6 separate regions of the Homo sapiens genome follow, and all the other regions are linked to region 1. Evidence: promoter capture Hi-C in 16 types of primary human blood cells and fetal thymus (Javierre and others, 2016). All regions are on one chromosome and are shown on one strand. Each heading gives the region's core, a stretch centred on a gene start or on the middle of the fragment in contact. The rest is flanking DNA. Distances are from core to core; before and after follow the strand shown. Region 1 holds the start of AURKAIP1 (aurora kinase A interacting protein 1). Region 2 overlaps LOC100288175 (a long non-coding RNA gene). Region 3 has its middle 4.2 kb from the start of HES4. Region 4 holds the start of PERM1 (PPARGC1 and ESRR induced regulator, muscle 1). Region 5 overlaps CDK11A (cyclin dependent kinase 11A). Region 6 holds the start of SLC35E2B (solute carrier family 35 member E2B).

Region 1 (2,700 bases), core at 7-2,506:
CGTGTTCTCAGCACTTTGCCCTCCCAGGGCCAAGCAGGGGGCCACTCACCTGCTTGCGTCTCAGGCGTCCCTCCTGGACCTTCCTCCGCAGGAACCGCGTCTTCTTCACCAGCTTCCGGTACTTGTGGTGGTTCATCTTCCGCCGGCGGATCTTCAGCACGTTTTTGCACTGAATTTGAGGCGCATCCGCGACGCCTTCATCCCCCTGCTCGGCCCCTTCCCCTATCTGGCTGGGCGGACACTGGTAGGATTGCGGTGGAGCCACAGTCCCTGCGGTCCCGGTATCCAGTCTGGGCAGGAAGCAGCGGGCCGTGAGCCAGCTCTCCAGGGGGCTGACGGACATCTTCCTGGGGACCAGCATCTCCTCCAGCTCCAGCTGGGCCCCCTTGCGAGGGAGAGAGGCCGCCCTACCTGGGCCGGCCGGCGATGTGCTGTAAAGGGGCCCGCAGACCCGGCTGCCCAGCACTCCAGAGACGGGCCAAGGCGGGCGGCCGCCTGCAGAAAACCAGACGCCACGGTCACCGCTCGCGAGACCACACAGGCCCGTCGGGTTGAGGAGCAGCAGGTTCGTCCCAGCGAGGATCCCCCGCACCTCATTCCTGGCCTGAACCCCTGAGGTTCCCTCTGTGAGCATCGGAAGCTTAGAGGGGAAAGAGTGTGTGTGTGGCCACCGGCCCTGCCCCAGCGGAGCTGCTGAGACCCGCACTCCTAACCAGGTGTGCATCCTCCCATCCGCCCCCGCGCGGCTTCCTACCTGCCCAAGGAACGGCCCTCAACAGCTGGGAAGTCAGGCGCCCCAGGAGCATGGTCTGTGGGCGGCGGCCACAGGTCCCAGGGGAGCTGGAACACAAGTGCCCGTTCAGGTCAGGCGGCAGCGCCTTCAGTAGTCGCGGGCGGGCCGGGACTGGGGCGTCTGGTCCCGCCGCGACCCTCGCTTCCCTTCTCCCTCCGCCACCCCAACCCACAAGGAGGACTTTGCTTCCAACACAGCTCGCGCCCCGAGGCTCCCAAGCCCCCGACGCGGGCGGTGTCGCGCTCGGACGCACCGAAAGGTCCCAGAACGGGGAGGCCGGCCCCCTCCCCGGGTTCACCCCCGCGCGAATCGCGTTGCCTGGCGCCCGGACCCTCTCGGCTGGACCCCGGGCCCGCCTGCCGCAGCGCCCGGCGCCCTCAGGCCTCCCGCTGACCCTTCCCAAGCCCGACCTCGACGCGGCTCAAATTGACCGTTCTGCGGCCGCCCTCGGGCACTTCCGGTCCGTCCCCAAGTCGGCCCCGATCGGCAGCGGCCACCCGGCGGTTCCTACGCACAGCGCCCGCTGGCGTCCTCGCGGCCCCCGATTCTGCATTGGCTCAGGCCCCGCCGGGCCCGAAAGGCGACGGTTTCCGGTTAGTGGAATCACGGTCCCAGTCCTCGCGCGGTTCCTCAGCTCCGCCTGGTCCCTTACGGAGGCAAAAAACTACATTTCCCACAATCCCAGGGGGTGCGGGCCCTGGATATACCCGCAGGTCCAGAATCGTTTCCGGACCACCCAGGGGCCGGATTCCCAACGGGCCGACGGAAGTGCGGGCTCAAGACTACGGAAGTGACGTATCTGGCAACGGAAGTGGAGTTACGTGGAAGGCGGAAGCGTCTAGAGCTATTTCCCCCGTTTTTGCTAGAGACCAAGGACCCGGAATAAGCACTGAGCCTGCGGTACCGGGCCTCCCCGACTCCTCATTCCTGGGGTTAAAAAAAAAAAAATAAGACGCAGGCTGGGCGCGGTGGCTCAGGCCTGTAATCCCAGCACTTTGGGAGGCCGAGGCTGGTGGATCACCTGAGGTCAGGAGTTCGAGACCAGCATGGCCAACATGGTGAAACCCCGTCTCTACTAAAACTACAAAAATTAGCCTAGCGTGGTGGCAGGCGCCTGTAATCCCAGCTACTCGGGAGGCTGAGGCAAGAGAATCGCTTGCGCCCAGGAGGCAGAGGTTGCGGTGAGCCGAGATCGCACCACTGCACTCCAGTCTGGGTGACATAGATCCTGTCTCAAAAAAATAAATAAATAAATAAAATAAAAATCAGACTCACACTTTTTGTCTGAGAACTAAAAGCAGCCTCTCTGGTGGATTGGGTTTGGCTGAGCCCCTAATGATGCTCCCCAGAGTAGGCGCTGCCAACGTGTAGCTTCACCTTTCTACTCCAGACAGGCCCCTTTGACCTCCGTGAGGTTGGCTAATATAGAGACCCCAGCATGGACTTGCAGGGGCGCCTGGTGGGAGAGGGGTGTGGAGCAGAGCCTGCTGGGCCTGCTCGGAGACTTGCCTTGCAGGAGGGTCTTCCAGGGACGCTTAGCAGGAAGTGGAAAGGCCAGGTCATCTGCCGGGCCCAGCCTGGCTAAGCAGTGAGTGACAGGTAGGATAGGCCAGTGTGAGGACATAAAGTTCAGGCTCCAGGCCCACCTCTACAACTGAGGTCCCCAGATGACTCTACGTTACCCCTCAGAGGGGCTACTTGGGACTCCAAGCAGGAAGGTTTACGAACGTTATTTGCGGGCCCGCCCTTCACCCCTGCTGCACAGCTTCCCCTAGTGGATTTGGCCGTAAATGAGCAGACTGGTGCCTCCAGAGCAGCCCTCACCTTGGTGCCCCTGTGTTTGTCTTCACCCGGCTGGGGTCCAGGGAGATGCAAAGAATCCATCAGAGAACAGGTGAGCATGTTGA
Region 2 (2,700 bases), core at 175-2,674, 310 kb before region 1:
GGAAAGGAGACTCCCTTTCCCGGTCTGCTCAGTAACGGGTGCCTTCCCAGACACTGGCGTTACCGCTTGACCAAGGGGCCCTCAAGCGGCCCTTATGCGGGCATGACAGAAGGCTCCCCTCTTGCCTTCTATTCACTTCTCACAATGTCCCTTCAGCACCTGACCCTATACCTGCCGGTTATTCCTAGGTTATATTATTAATGCAACAGAGTAATATTAAAAGCTAATGATTAATAATGTTTATAATAATGATGGATAATTGTTCATGATCATCGCTGTATCTAATTTGTATTATGACTATTCTTATTCTATTTTCTTTATTATACTGAAACAGTTTGTGCCTTCAGTCTCTTGCCTCGGCACCTAGGTACTCTTCCGCCCACACGGGACGGGCTGGGGGTGGCCATCTCGGGCTCTGGGAAGGGGCCGGGGCTGTGAGCTGAAGGCTCCATCACCTCCAGATGCTGCAGCAGCAGGAATGCCGGTTCCTGTACCCTCGGAAGGAGGGGCAGAGTGTGGAGAACAAGCCCAAGAATCACTACAAGAACATCCTTCCCTGTGAGGGCGGAGGCCAGGGCGTCACCCGTCGGGCCTGGGGGAGGTGGGGGGCAGGCCGAGCATCTGCCACCGCTGACCTGAGGCTCCCCCTTGCATACCCTGGACCCTCCATCTCTGCTCACCACAGGGTCTGCGGGCAAAGAGGCAGGGTGAGGCCCACGAGCTGTGCCCTGGAGAACTGAGCGGCACCTCCCTTCCCAGTTGATGCTACCCTTGAGTCATCCTGCTCAACGAGGATGACAGCGGGCCCGGAGCCGACTACATCAGGGTGGGTGTGTGCGGGAGGCGGGGCCTGGGCCCATTGCTCCTGGGGGGCTCAGGAAGAACCAGGGTCCCCAAGGGAGGGGTGGGCGGCAGTCTCCAAGGGGTCCTCAGAGAGGCTGGACGGGCATTGGTCCTCAGCCCCTTGCTGGCCTGGAGTGAGGAGTGTGTTTAAGCCACCAGGGCTCTTTGCATAATATTTGTGTGTCGTTTGCATATCATTTGCATAGCATTTGCATGGACTTGTTTGTCCTCTGTTAACAGCAGCAGTTGGCCTCATTCCCTTTCAGACTGACCCTGAGGAGGAGCCGGGCCATGGCAGGGGCAGGGTGGACATCCCTTGTGGCCCTGCCCCGCCGCACCTGCACCTGCACAGCCCGCGTGGGCCCGCCCCGCCGCAGCTGAAGTGCACCACCATGGGCCCGGCCCGCGGCTCGCGGCTCGCGGCTCTGGGCCCGGTTCACCTCGTCCCGGAAGCCGAGGACGCCGGCGGGATCGGTCCGGACGCCGTAGTCCGGCCAGCCGAAGTACTGGAAGTGCTGCACCGTACGCTGTGGCTCCTCCCCGCGGGGCAGGGCCTCGCGGGCGCAGGGTGTACATCGCCTGCAGGGCTGTCTGCAGGCCTGTCTGCAGGCCACGGTGGCTGCTTTCTGGGCCACGGTGCACCAGGAGAACACGCGTGTCATCGTCATGACCACCAGGGAGATGGAGCGGGGCCGGGTAGGGGTGCGGTGCCAGTGCTCCCAGTGCCCATCCCACCCCGTGCATCTTCGGCTGCCCAAGGCCCTTCCCGACCAGGCCAAGGAGGCTGTGGGACGCCGTGGGAGTGGGGAGGCTCCCACAGAGCCCCGTGGCTGCACGTACACACCTGCGTCTCTGCAGGTCGCAGGGGCGGGGTGCCGAGGTGCTGCCAGCAAGGCTGATGCAAAGCGCTCCCCTCGGAACAAGTGTTTCCGGGACTGGCCAGAGCTGCCCGGCAGCCAAGAGTTCGGCCGTGTGCACATGCGCGTCCTCGGCAAGGGCCAGGCCCAGGGCTACTGCGTGCGGGAGCTGCAGGTGTGGCGGCCGGGCCAGGTGAGCCTGGCGGCTGTGGAGCGTGCCTGCTGTCGGCCTGCACTGGGAGACCCCACACCTGCCTGCATCCAACCCCACTGCCTTTGGGGGCTTCCACACCCCTCAACCCAGGAGGTGCATTCCAAGCCTGGACAGGGGTCACTGACGTGGCCACATTCTCAGCCCTGGGCTGGCGGCCGCTCCTCCCACACACCTCTCCAACTGCAGCTTTGGTCTCCGTTGTATACCAGAGACGCCCATTTCTGCTCCGGGCAGATTACCTCGTGTTCCCTCCAGCCCCCGCCCAGTGTGTGTGGGGGGGTCCTCCAGGACCCCATGGACCCCTCACATTTGGTTTTTCCTTATAAAATAACTGTCCTCACAGCCTGCTTCGCCCGCCCCCAGCTCCCTCTTCCCTTCCCCAGGCACCTGAGCCACCTGGGGCCATCTCGGCGCCCCCTCCCCATTTCCTTCCTCCTCCTCCTGCTCGCCTTGGCTCCCGCAGCCCCTCCGCTTGGGCACTCCCGGAAACCCAGCTGTGCCTCAGCCTCCTCCTCCCACCCTGGGGTCACACTCACCGCTTGCCCCGCTCAGGAGGAGCCACAGCGTACGGTGCAGCACTTCCAGTACTTCGGCTGGCCGGACTACGGCGTCCGGGCCGATCCCGCCGGCGTCCTCGGCTTCCGGGACGAGGTGAACCGGGCCCAGAGCAGCAAGCCGCGGGCCGGGCCCATGGTGGTGCACTTCAGCTGCGGCGGGGCGGGCCCACGCGGGCTGTGCAGATGCAGGTGCGGCGGGGCGGGGCCACGCGGGCTGTGCAGGTGCAGG
Region 3 (2,700 bases), core at 126-2,625, 370 kb before region 1:
CGTGCCTGGCCAGGAGATTCTACTTTTAAAGCCACTGACGGCGTCCAACTCATAGTGAGCACCCACGCCCATCTGCCAGGGTTCCTGCCCCTGGGCAGCAGCTGGGGTCCTTGCTGAGCAGAGGCAGGAGGGGCCACCAGCACTTGCCTCTGCTCTTCTGGAGAGGAAGAGACCCCCCTGCTCCCTGCCCCCTGCCAGGGAGCCCACTCCAGGATCTCCGGGGACTGTGTTCCTCCCACCTTCTTTGCCACAGGACAGCTCCCATCTGTGTGTCTGTCTCTCTGGGTCTGTGCCCTTGGCCTCTGATGGTCCCCTCCCTGCCTCTCGAATCTGGCCTCGATTTGTGGTAGGGGCCTCAGGGTTCCTGAGGGCCTTGGGGTTCCCTTGCTCTGAGTGTGGGGGTGGATCCTGGGCTGCAGCCCAGGATGGTGCCGACACCTGGGTTGGGGGCAGGTTGCGTTTTTCAGAGACGGCCGTGATAGTATCTCCCATCCCCATATCTTGAAATGCCTTCTACATGAGACTCTGTGACAGTCTCAGCTGGGAAGAATGGGGTGTTTGGCAGGACATGACTTCTGAGGCTGACTTGGAAGACGCCATGCGTACCTCGCTGTCCTGGGACAGTCGCTCTTGGAACCCAGCTGCCGTGCTGGGAGGGAGCACGCCCTGGCCTCAAGGAGAGGCCCCGTGGAGGAATCAGCATTGGATTCCAGACTCCTGAGCAGCTTCCGGCGCAGGTCCCAGCGCGCCCCGTTCCAAGGCTGCCCGCACACAGTAGGGTGGTTGCTGAGCGTGCTGTTTTGGGGTGGTTTGTGGTGCGGCACTCAAGACTGGAATAGTGGAGGTGGGCTGGGGCCCTGACCCAGGGAGAGTGACCCTTCCCTCCTCACCCCTGCTCCCTCCTCGCTGATCCCTTCCTCTCTTCCACAGAGGCAGAGGCTCAGCGACTTCCCCACCCCTCCCCCCCATCTAACGGGTGCTTCTTGGGAGCCACTGAAATCCAGCCGACCTCCTGGCCCTGAGTGGGTCAAGCTCCAAATGGCGGGTGGCCCCGGGGCATCTGCACAGCCCCCTGTTAGCTAAGGGGGGTGACTGATGAGGACATTCACACGCCAGTGGGGAGACTGTGGGGAAAACCGGGGTGTCTTCTAGGCTGGACCTGGGGGGGCCTCAGCCTTGTTGGGGGGTCTCCTCACATTGGGCCACTGTGGCCGCACTCCATGACCACAGCCAGTGTCCCCAAAAGGCCTGTGAGGTGCTGGCTGTGACCTCCCCTCCCAACCTCTGACCCAGAGGTGGCGGCTGCCATCTCGCCACGGCCCTCAACACCCCCCTCACACACTGACTCCTGACATCAGAGACCTGTAGCCACCCCCTGCAGGTGGTCCTCAGCATGGTCCCCAACTCCTGCCCAGGGCAGCGGGCTGTGCACTCAGGCAGCTGGGGCCAAAGCCACCGAGGAACCAAGGCTGGGGTGGGGGTGGGTTTCTCTCCCGGAGAGCCGAGGTGGGCGCAGAGCTGTTCCTGGGTGTTTGCTGGGATTGTAGTGACAGAAGGCCAGGGCTGCAGGAATCCAGGCTGCCAGAGAGAGACCAGGACTCAGGCAGAAGCAGCAGCACCAGGCTGGTGCCACTGCCACCCCACCTGCATGCCTTCTCAGCAGCGGTGGGAGCTGTGTCTCCAAGCAGGATGGTACTGGAGTCTCCCCACCCTGCCTGTCTGGGATGCCCTCCCAGCCTGTTCCTGCTCCCGGCAGGCGCTGCTTTTCTCTCTGCTGTACCAGGACGAGGTGGGTGCCCTTGTCCCTCCTCACTGGCACTCCCAGACTGCTTTCCTTTTCCACCAAAACCACCCCCGCTTTGTGACCAGACCTCACTGTGTTGAAGTCATCGGCACCCCTTTCCTGCAGGAGGGGACACCTGCTCCCTGTCACTCTCCCGGCCATGCCTTCAAAATCCACACCAGCAATTCTCCAACTTTGACTTCCTCTCTTTCAGGGGTCCTGTCCCCTCCCCACTTACCCCACTGGGTCCTTTCTCCCAACTGCACCCCTCCACGGTCCAGCCTCTCCACTCTCTCTGCCCCCCTCCCAGCTCCCGCCTCTGCTGTCCGCCAGCCCTGAGATCTCGGGCAGATGCACAGCCTGCATCTGCGGCTTCCTCCTCCCCTGTCTGTTCTCTCCTTATCAAGAGAAGCCTATCTGGCCGGCCATTGTGTCTGCCCCTCACCCTCCCTCCTTCCTGTTCATGTGGGCAGACCACAGCCCGTGTGGAATCCCTACCTTCTTGGTGGCTTAAGCACCACCTGCCTATTCTTTCCGTAGTGGGGATCAGGGCAGTGCCAGTGGCTTCCTGGGGCCTCTCACAGCCTGCGGCCCTGGGCCAAGGTCAGCTGGGTGGGAAGGGCCCAAGGGTAGCCATGCTGGACACCTGGGGCTGCTGTCCCTCAGCTGCCGGGCTCTCTGCCAGAGCCGTGCAGCCTGGAGTCCTACCCACTCTCAGTCAGCTTCCTCCTAACACATGGCCAGCGTTCCAGGAGGGCGAAGTGGAAGCCTAGGGACTCTTGAGGCCAGGATCCAGAACGCACATAGTAAAATCTCCACCACACTCCATCGGCCAAAGCAAGTCACAGCAGCCAGATTCCAGAGGAGTCGAAGCACACACTGACCCCTCCTCCCCTCCACCGCCTGCCTCTGCCCTC
Region 4 (2,500 bases), core at 1-2,500, 390 kb before region 1:
GCCCAGTTGGGAGAGGTGGGGCCCTGGGGGGACTGCTGCCACTGCTGTCCCCTTGGTCAATGTCACTGGACAAGAGCTCGTCCCCAGAGGCCAGGCCGGCCTGCAGGAGGCCACACTCATCGGCGGTGGCTGAGAACTCGGCCCAGTCCTGGTCACTCAGCTGGACGCTGTACTGGAAATTTTCCATGTGGAGTCAGCAGAGGCACTGGAGGGTAGCAGAATGGGTCCGGTGGGGTCTTCATGGGTTCAGGCCCCGGGCACCACCCTGCACATGCCGCCCCTGCCCCACGAGACCTGGGAGCTCCCACCGCCTCGGGGCTCCATCCATGCCCTGAAAGGAAGAGAACAGCATCTCGAGGGGAGGGCCGCGCTTCCTTCAAACCTAGTGGTGACGATTTCCAAGTTAGAAGATCCCCAGCTCCCATGACCCTAGTTCCCAACGCACCCCAAATGATAGCTGTGTGATGATGCGGTGTTACATTCCTAGAATCAAGGATGATTTTCTACCAGTGAAGCTATAAAACCAGCCGTCCTCAGGTTTGAATGCTCTTTCCCATCACACCTCAGCTGGGGCAGCCTCACCTCCTCCACCTTCTGCCAGAGCTGTCTTTGCACGGCAAAGCACCTTTCAGGGTCCACCCGATGGGACCAGTGCCCTCGGGGGTGGGCAGCCCTGGTCCATCCCAGTGCGCCCCAGCTGGCAGCCGGCCACAGGAAAGGTTTACAGGGCCCAGCAGGTGCCCAGCCCTCGGCGATGACCTTCCGATCGCCTTGGCTGGGCCAGGCTATTCTCTGAGCTCACCAGGTGGTGCTGGCCAGAGCTGGCCCAAGTCAGCACGGAGAGCCTGGGCAGGAGGTGCAGGCTGCGGTGGGTCTCTTGACCCAGCAGCCACCTCGGGCCGTCCTCGAGGTCTGCACCACGATCCAGGCCTGCCCGGCTGCCCGGGGTGCCTTCCTTTGCCCCGTCTCAGAGAAGCAAGGAGACCCTAGCCAGCTGTCGGGTCTACCCCTAGAGGGGGCCGCCCTCGGCCTCAGGTCAGCCCCTCTGGACCCAGGGGTGGGAAGTCACTTTGGTGGGGACGGTCCTGAGACGGAGGCCAGGGCATGGTGGCTTCCCACCCACTGACCTTCGCCCTCCTCTCTGGTCTCTTGAGAAGCCTCTGTGGGGGTTGTTACCATTGGGGCCCCTTGGGTCAGGAGCCAGCAGCTGACCATGTCCTACCTGGGTCCCGGCGGCCGAGCTGGGCGTCTGAGCTGCCCGTCCTGGGTCGGCATGGTGCTAGGCTGTGGCTGCACAGGCTCCTCCCCCTGTGCCAAAAATACCACGTCCCTGTGGCCACATGAGACTCGTGCCAGCCATCAGGGTCCAGGCCACAAATAGATGGCATTTGAGGGCCCTCCAGCTACAGTACATGAGGACGACTTCCTGGCACGGGGCCGGGCTGAGGTGGGGTCAGACACGGGCCGGAGGACGCTGACCAGCAGGCAGCACCGCTCAGTTCCCGTGCCTCCGCCACCCGCGGTGAAACCTCAGACCTGCCCTCCCTGCCGCCCCTGGAATGTTCCTGGCCTGCTTCTGAGATGGCCTCTGTGTCCCGGCCAGGGCTTGTGCCTCCCGGTCCTGACCTCTGGGGCTCATGTGAGGGTGAGTGACGCCAGGGAGCGTCAGCGTCAGAGCCCCCACGCCTGGCTCCGCTCAGCTGCACCCTCCAGGCCGTCCTGACCTTGGGGTTCACGGTGCCCATTCCCAGGCAGGTTCCGAGCCAGAGGGGACAAGAGGACAGGGCGAGGGATCCAACAATAAACATCCGATCAAACAGGCAGGTGAGCTCAGCTCCGATGGCAGCACGTCCTGAGAAAGAAGTAGGGAGAGGCGTGGCTGGAGGGGCCGGAGACCTCTCTAAGGAGGAGGCTTGGACCGAGAAGCTCCTGAGAGTTCAGGGCACGATACTAGGAGACTGGGGTGTGCGCCGTGAGGGGTGGCAGTGAGAGCTGGGCGTGCAGAAAGTGCATGCCTGGTGCCATACGATGCTTTTCCAGAAAGTAGCTGCCACGAGACCACAGGACAAGGCGTCCCGCCACGCAGGGCCGGCCTGACTTGAGCTTTCACAAGTGGAATCGCACCCTGCATCCCTTTCTGCATCTGTGTCCTCGGGCCCACGCCGTGCTCTGGAGACAGCTGCCATGAGGGCCGCGGGCGACTGCCCGGGCGGGTGAGGCTGTCCTGTGTGAACGTGCCACGCGGCTGTGCCGTTTCCCGTGGGTGGCGATGTGGGTCGTTTCCAGTTTGCAGCTACCACACACGGTGCGGCTGTGAATATCTGGGAACATTCCTTTCGGCGAACCTCTCACATTTCCAGGACGCTTGGGGTCAGCGTCAGAAGGTGCCGCCCCGTTCCCCAGGTGGCTGCGTGGCCGTGCTCCAGGCTGGAGTTTCCCAGGAGCTGCGCATCTGCTTCTGTGTGGCGTCTCTCGGCTGCGGCCGCCTCCCTGTGCCTCC
Region 5 (2,700 bases), core at 153-2,652, 340 kb after region 1:
GGGAGCAGCTCTCAGGCCAGAAGGTCAGATTCTTACTGCTTTTACCCACAGCTCAGCAGTTTTCCAAGCATCAGTGCTTCTCAGATTATCCTTATCAGTTTCCTTTTTGTCAGAGACAAGGTCTCTCTACGTTGCCCAGGCTGGCGTCATGCGGTCCTCTGGCCTTAGCCTCCCACGTAGCATATGCTACCACACCCAGTTCTGGATTGGCTGATCTGAATCGGCCCTACCCAGAAGTCTGCCCCCAACAATTTTTGTTCATTCACTCTCCTGTCTTTACCTTCTGGGAAATCAATATGACAGCCCAAATTTCATCTACCAACCTCCACTTCTATCCCAAGCTCTACTCTCGTGGGACAAGACACACTCAATGTCTGGCACAGGGCGTGGCATACATGAATGTTTCACACACTAACAGGAACTAGGCCAACTGAAACCTTGCTCACCCAGCAGCGGTCTCGGACCTTGACCCCTGGGCCTCAGTGTCTCCCACACCCTTCGGCATCAACAAGAACCAGCGCCCTCTCATCATCTTTACATGCTGTGTACCCAGCCCTGGCTGCTGGCAAACATCGCTGCACACGCCCTTCCGCTTCAGACTCCTCTCTTCCTGGAGCAGCTTGCAAGCTTTCTGTGGACTCACTCTGAAGGCGGAGATGGGCCTGCTCGCACCTGGCCTACAGCCTTTTTCCTGGTTCACAGAACAGATCTGGGGCTACACCGATGTTCTTTCTTGGGAATCTGGCTCATAAAGGGGAACGAATATACAGACTAATGGCCAGGAGTCCTAGGAGTCCAGTGTCCCGATTTCCAGACTGTTTCAAGGTTTTTGGGATCTCCCTTCTCCTTTTTTTGAGACAGTCTCACTCTGTCAACCAGGCTGGAGTGCAGTAGCATGGTCATAGCTTACTGCAGCCTTGACCTCCCAGGCTCAAGGGATCCAACCACCTCAGCCTCGTAAGTGCTGGAATTCTAGCGTGAGCCACTGCGCCCGGCGGGACGTGCAGATTTCTGATCCCTTCATTGTCTTCCCTCAATCAAATCACACCCGTTCTTACTTCCAGATGCAGTGAAAACTCACTCCCTCAGGACAGTTCTCTTGGTCAGCCTCGTCCAGCGTTCACTGTGCTGTTTCCATGTCTACCACTTCTGCAACAAATGTGACTTCTATTGCCAAATTCTTCTTCATTGCTGTGACAGGACACACTACCACGGCCCTTTCATAAAGTCCTCAACTGACCCAGCCCACTCACCTTTCTCTCCTGGAATGCTCCCTTGCCATTTCCCTTCTCTTCTGTCTTTCCCATTCCCGGCGAGCTTTATCCTGTTCTTCTCGATGTCGTTTCCGACGTTCGTGCTCTCTTTCTTTCACTCTAGCATGCTTCCCTAATGAGAAATAAAGTGTCATGCAAAGAAACCTCACTTCAAAAATTTCACGAGGCCGGGCACGGTGGCTTACGCCTGTAATCCCAGCACTTTGGGAGGCCGAGGCGGGTGGATCACCTGAGGTCAGGAGTTCAAAACCAGCCTGGCCAACATGGTGAAACCCCGTCTCTACTAAAAATACAAAAATTAGCTGGGCGTGGTGGCAGGCACCTGTAATCCCAGGTACTAAGGGAGGCTGAGGCTGTAGAATCACTTGAACCTGGGAGGTGGAGGTTGCGGTGAGCCGAGATCGTGCCACTGCACTCCAGCCTGGGCGAAAAAGTGAGACTCCATCTCAAAAAAAAAAAAAAAAAAAAAAAAAAAAAAAAAAAAAATCACATGAAAATGAAATTAAATCAAGAACATTAAATATTTAAATAATGATGTTAAGTAATCCTAATCTTTTTTTTTTTTTTTTTGAAGAGACAGGGTCTCACTATATTGGCCAAGCTGGTCTTGAACTCCTGGGCTCAAGTGATCCTCCATCCTTGTCCTCCCAAAGTGCTGGGATTACAGGCCTGGGCCACTGCACCCAGTCGAATAATCATGATTTTATGTTAAATAAAAAACTTTGAAAATAGAAAACTATCTGCAGTAAGCGTCTAATTATGAAGAAAGAAGAAAAAAGAAAAACAATTCTGCTATCACAGAAGAGAATTGTAATATTCATCTTTTAAAAATTTTCTATACTGAATAAACTATAATTATCAGTTTTATAATACAAAAACCACTCTTCACAAAGACTACAGAACAAAGCTTTGCTATCAGTGGGCTTCTCCACTGTGCAATGAAGCCACATTAATTAATCAAGCGTATTTATAATAATGAGATTTCAATCGGGCTCCAGGTCCAATTTTCCTAACACCCGTAAGAATCTCCTGATGTTGGTACGAGATCAAACTGCTCAAGCCTAACCCATTCTTTGGACTTGAGCAAATACCCATTTTGGGGTGTGTTTTTCTCCTATACTTGTTGAATTCAGGTCATTTTAAATGTAAACAAACTGCTCCCAAACAATATAATGGGGGAGAGAAAACCCCAGAGGAAAAATGGACTAGCCATTCTGAATGGTCTGTGACACACGCACGCTTTCAGCTAGAGTTTGCTCTCTCTGGTTTTCGGTCTGTGACACACGCATGCTTTCAGCTAGAGTTTGCTCTCTCTGGTTTTCGGTCTGTGACACACGCACACTTTCAGCTGGAGTATCCTCTCTATAGCCCCTCTGAACGGTCTGTGACACACGCATGCTTTCAGCTAGAGTTTGCTCTCTCTGGT
Region 6 (2,700 bases), core at 151-2,650, 320 kb after region 1:
GGAGCCCAGACCTTTCTGAACCTCATCTCAGAAGTGACATCCTTCCCTTCTGCTGTCTGGGCACAGCTCCCCGGGTGGAGCCCGAGGACTAGAAGGAAAAGAAAACTTGGATTTAAAATGGGATAAAGCCATAGGAGCTGCTCGTCCCACCACAGGAATCTCAACGCCGGGTTACTGACAAAGCGTCACTTTGCACCTCGTCCAACTGTGCAGACCTCTCCTAGCCAGGCCCCTGCACCAGAGGTTAAGAATCCGTGCCCCTGGTCAGGAAGTCCAGGTGGGTTCAAACGGCCAGCAGGGAATTTCAGGCAAAATGTGTCCCAAATCTTCAAACCATGCCCCAGAACTCAGACCTCCCCCTGGGAGTTCGTCCCAAGGAAACCACCTGCAAGAGGCTCAGGCTGCAGGGGACACTCCGCTTCCAAAACCCGGAAGCTGGAGACCACACAAGTGCCCAACGCCAAAGGCACCCCGTGGAGGGACGCCCTGTGCCCTCCCCCGACCAGGTGACCCGCTGCGCCCTACACATCTTCACCAGGAAACATCTGTTATCGATGTGGACGAAGCGCAGCCTGCACTCCCAGATCCGCTCATTTTCGTTCTGCCCTCCGTTTTACGATTCGCCTACACTGAAAATGCGTGAGTGGAGTGGAAAGCCTTCCTACTCCTGCCTCAGCGACCCCTTCTAAAATACTGCCTCGTTTGGCCTGAAAATGTGATTTGCAGGCTTCCTGAGCAAAGTAGATTTCACTCCATTAAAGAAAAAAAAAAAGAAAAGGCACCGAACGGGGCTCGGCTGTCGGGAGTTTTGCTTTAGTTTTTTGCGTGTTTTGTTTTGTGTTTTTTTGTTGTTGTTGTTCTTTTTGCGGCCACGCACACCGCGTTCCCAGGCTTCAGGGCGTGGGGGTCGCCGTGGACTCCCGGACGTGAAAACGCTTAAAGCCAGCTGGGAAAACCCCACCAGCGTTTTCCGCGCACAGCGCCAGCCATAGGAAAGGACCCCCAGGAGCGAATCCGGGCAGGGAAACCCCGGACGCCCGCACACTCAGCATCAGTACCGGCACCCAGCACCCAGCACCGAGCACCGAGCACGCAGCACCCAGCACCGATCACCGAGCAGAGCACCCCGCACGCAGAACCCACCGAGAGCCTGATGCAGTCTCCGCCGCAGGCATAGCGCTAGGCCCCGGCGCCTTCACAACAAAGGGACGCTGGCGGGCGGGGCCTGAGAGGCGCGCGGTGGAGGGGCCGGGCGCGAGGCCGCGGAGACAGCTCGGAGCTCGGCACTGGGGAGTGGCACAGCGCTGGCGGATCCAGGTGGGCTTCACGGGGCGCCCGCGGGACCGGAAATGACGCGCAGAACCCTGCATCGGGCTCCTCGCTGCCCCGCGGGCGCCGCTCCTCAGTGCCCCAGAGCCACGGAGCCGGGGAAACGCGCCGCGGCCCACAACGCCCCCGCGGCTGCCCGTTGGTTCCGCCCGGGCCGTTCTACTCCAGGCAGACGGGAGGAGAAACACGGCGCGCTCAGCGTCCCCTCCCCCGTTGGTTCTGCTCGGGCCCTTCCACTGCAGGCCGACGGGGGTGGAAACACGCAGTTTTTTTTTTTTTTTTAAGGTCTAGGGTAACACGGGGCTTTTAAGTGCCTCTCCGCTGCCGCCTGGTGGTCCAGCCCGGGCCGTTGCAGTGCAGCCACACGGGGAGGGACACGGCGCGCCGAGTGCTCCGGGCGGCCGCACGTTGGTTCCGCCCGGGCCGTTCCACTGCAGGCAGAGGGAGAGGACGACGGTGCGCGTAGTGCATCCCCGTGGCCCGTTGGTTCCGCCGGGGCCGTTCCACTGAAGGCAGAAGGGGGGGGACCGTGGCCCCACCCCCCGCGGCAGCCCGTTGGTTCCGCCCGGGCGGTTCCGCCCGGGCTGTTCCACCAGCGGCACTTCAGGGCGGGATCGGCCAGTCTGTGGAGGCAGCGGCCTCTAAGCCCCGGAGGGTTTACTGCCCAGGTTTGGGTTCCAGGAATAAGAAATCCACTGAATAGGCTTAACTTAGAAGACACAAAGGCGCCTCCTGGCGGAAGTGGCCACGCTCCGCCCAGCCTGAGGGAAAGCTGCTCTGACAGCTGGGCCCGGAGCTGCGGGGGGCGGGGCCGCCGCGCGGGGTGAGGACTCGCCTCAGGGCGCTGATTGGCTGGTGGCGCGCTCCGGGGCGGGGCCTTCGTATCCAGGCTGGCGTCGGGGCTGCCGCGGGACATCCGGAGCAGACACCCGCGGGCGCGCCTGCGGCCCCGAGGACCCCCGGCTCCGGAGCTTCGTCGAGCGTTTTCCTAGCGTTACTTTCCCAAATAATTTTCAGGAATGAAGTTACGGCTAAAGGGCTCTTTAGAGATTACTTTTGGGCCGGGCCCGGTGGCTCACGCCTGTAATCTCAACACTTTGGGAGGCCGAGGCCGGCGCATCACGAGGTCAGGAGCTTGAGACCAGCCTGGTATGGCCAACGTGGTAAAACGTCGTCTCTACTAAAAATACAAAAATTGGCCGGGCGTGGTGGCGGGCGCCTGTAATCCCAGCTACTCCGGAGGCTGAGGAAGGAGGATCACCTGAACCCGGGAGGCGGAGGTTGCAGTGAGCCGAGATGGCGCCACTGCACTCCAGCCTGGCGACAGAGCGAGACTCCCTGTCAAAAGAAAAAAGAAAAGATTACTTTTGG

Evidence for each region. The method cuts DNA at HindIII sites, captures the fragments that hold promoters and counts their contacts. A CHiCAGO score of 5 or more calls a contact.
Region 2: a fragment that was not itself captured here is called in contact with the fragment with the promoter of AURKAIP1 in region 1 in 1 of 17 cell types (total CD4 T cells); the score reaches 5.6 in total CD4 T cells.
Region 3: a contact is called between a fragment that was not itself captured here and the fragment with the promoter of AURKAIP1 in region 1, in 1 of 17 cell types (total B cells). The highest score is 5.1, in total B cells.
Region 4: a contact is called between the fragment with the promoter of PERM1 here and the fragment with the promoter of AURKAIP1 in region 1, in 3 of 17 cell types (activated CD4 T cells, total B cells and naive CD4 T cells). The highest score is 11.2, in activated CD4 T cells.
Region 5: a contact is called between a fragment that was not itself captured here and the fragment with the promoter of AURKAIP1 in region 1, in 2 of 17 cell types (total B cells and naive CD8 T cells). The highest score is 8.0, in total B cells.
Region 6: a fragment that was not itself captured here is called in contact with the fragment with the promoter of AURKAIP1 in region 1 in 1 of 17 cell types (fetal thymus); the score reaches 7.0 in fetal thymus.

Annotation. Positions count from the first base shown.
Region 1 is chr1:1,373,951-1,376,650 of GRCh38, forward strand. AURKAIP1 (aurora kinase A interacting protein 1) reads right to left here and starts at 1,257. Exons shown (of 4, transcript NM_017900.3): 1 at 1,204-1,257; 2 at 755-840; 3 at 50-495. The coding sequence starts at 806. RefSeq lists silencers at 998-1,047, 1,068-1,247 and an enhancer at 1,043-1,948. The HindIII fragment of the contact is 3,347 bases long and covers 639-2,700 here.
Region 2 is chr1:1,066,111-1,068,810 of GRCh38, forward strand. It overlaps LOC100288175 (a long non-coding RNA gene), which reads left to right. Exons shown (of 4, transcript NR_148960.1): 4 at 1-343. It overlaps LOC105378948 (a long non-coding RNA gene), which reads right to left. Exons shown (of 5, transcript NR_168433.1): 1 at 2,451-2,700; 2 at 1,688-1,930; 3 at 636-688; 4 at 356-488. Among named protein-coding and RNA genes, the nearest start is that of RNF223, 6.8 kb to the right of the region's middle. RefSeq lists a silencer at 2,604-2,700. The HindIII fragment of the contact is 4,423 bases long and covers 1-2,700 here.
Region 3 is chr1:1,002,931-1,005,630 of GRCh38, forward strand. No RefSeq gene overlaps it. Among named protein-coding and RNA genes, the nearest start is that of HES4, 4.2 kb to the left of the region's middle. The HindIII fragment of the contact is 5,463 bases long and covers 1-2,700 here.
Region 4 is chr1:980,843-983,342 of GRCh38, forward strand. It overlaps PERM1 (PPARGC1 and ESRR induced regulator, muscle 1), which reads right to left and starts at 1,251. Exons shown (of 4, transcript NM_001394713.1): 1 at 1,223-1,251; 2 at 1-331. The coding sequence starts at 187. The HindIII fragment of the contact is 23,754 bases long and covers 1-2,500 here.
Region 5 is chr1:1,715,093-1,717,792 of GRCh38, forward strand. It overlaps CDK11A (cyclin dependent kinase 11A), which reads right to left. Exons shown (of 20, transcript NM_024011.4): 5 at 1,254-1,386. Among named protein-coding and RNA genes, the nearest start is that of CDK11A, 7.9 kb to the right of the region's middle. The HindIII fragment of the contact is 1,554 bases long and covers 626-2,179 here.
Region 6 is chr1:1,691,306-1,694,005 of GRCh38, forward strand. It overlaps SLC35E2B (solute carrier family 35 member E2B), which reads right to left and starts at 1,490. Exons shown (of 10, transcript NM_001290264.2): 1 at 1,144-1,490; 2 at 1-88. RefSeq lists an enhancer at 1,025-1,319 and silencers at 1,154-1,313, 1,884-1,963. The HindIII fragment of the contact is 3,344 bases long and covers 1-2,700 here.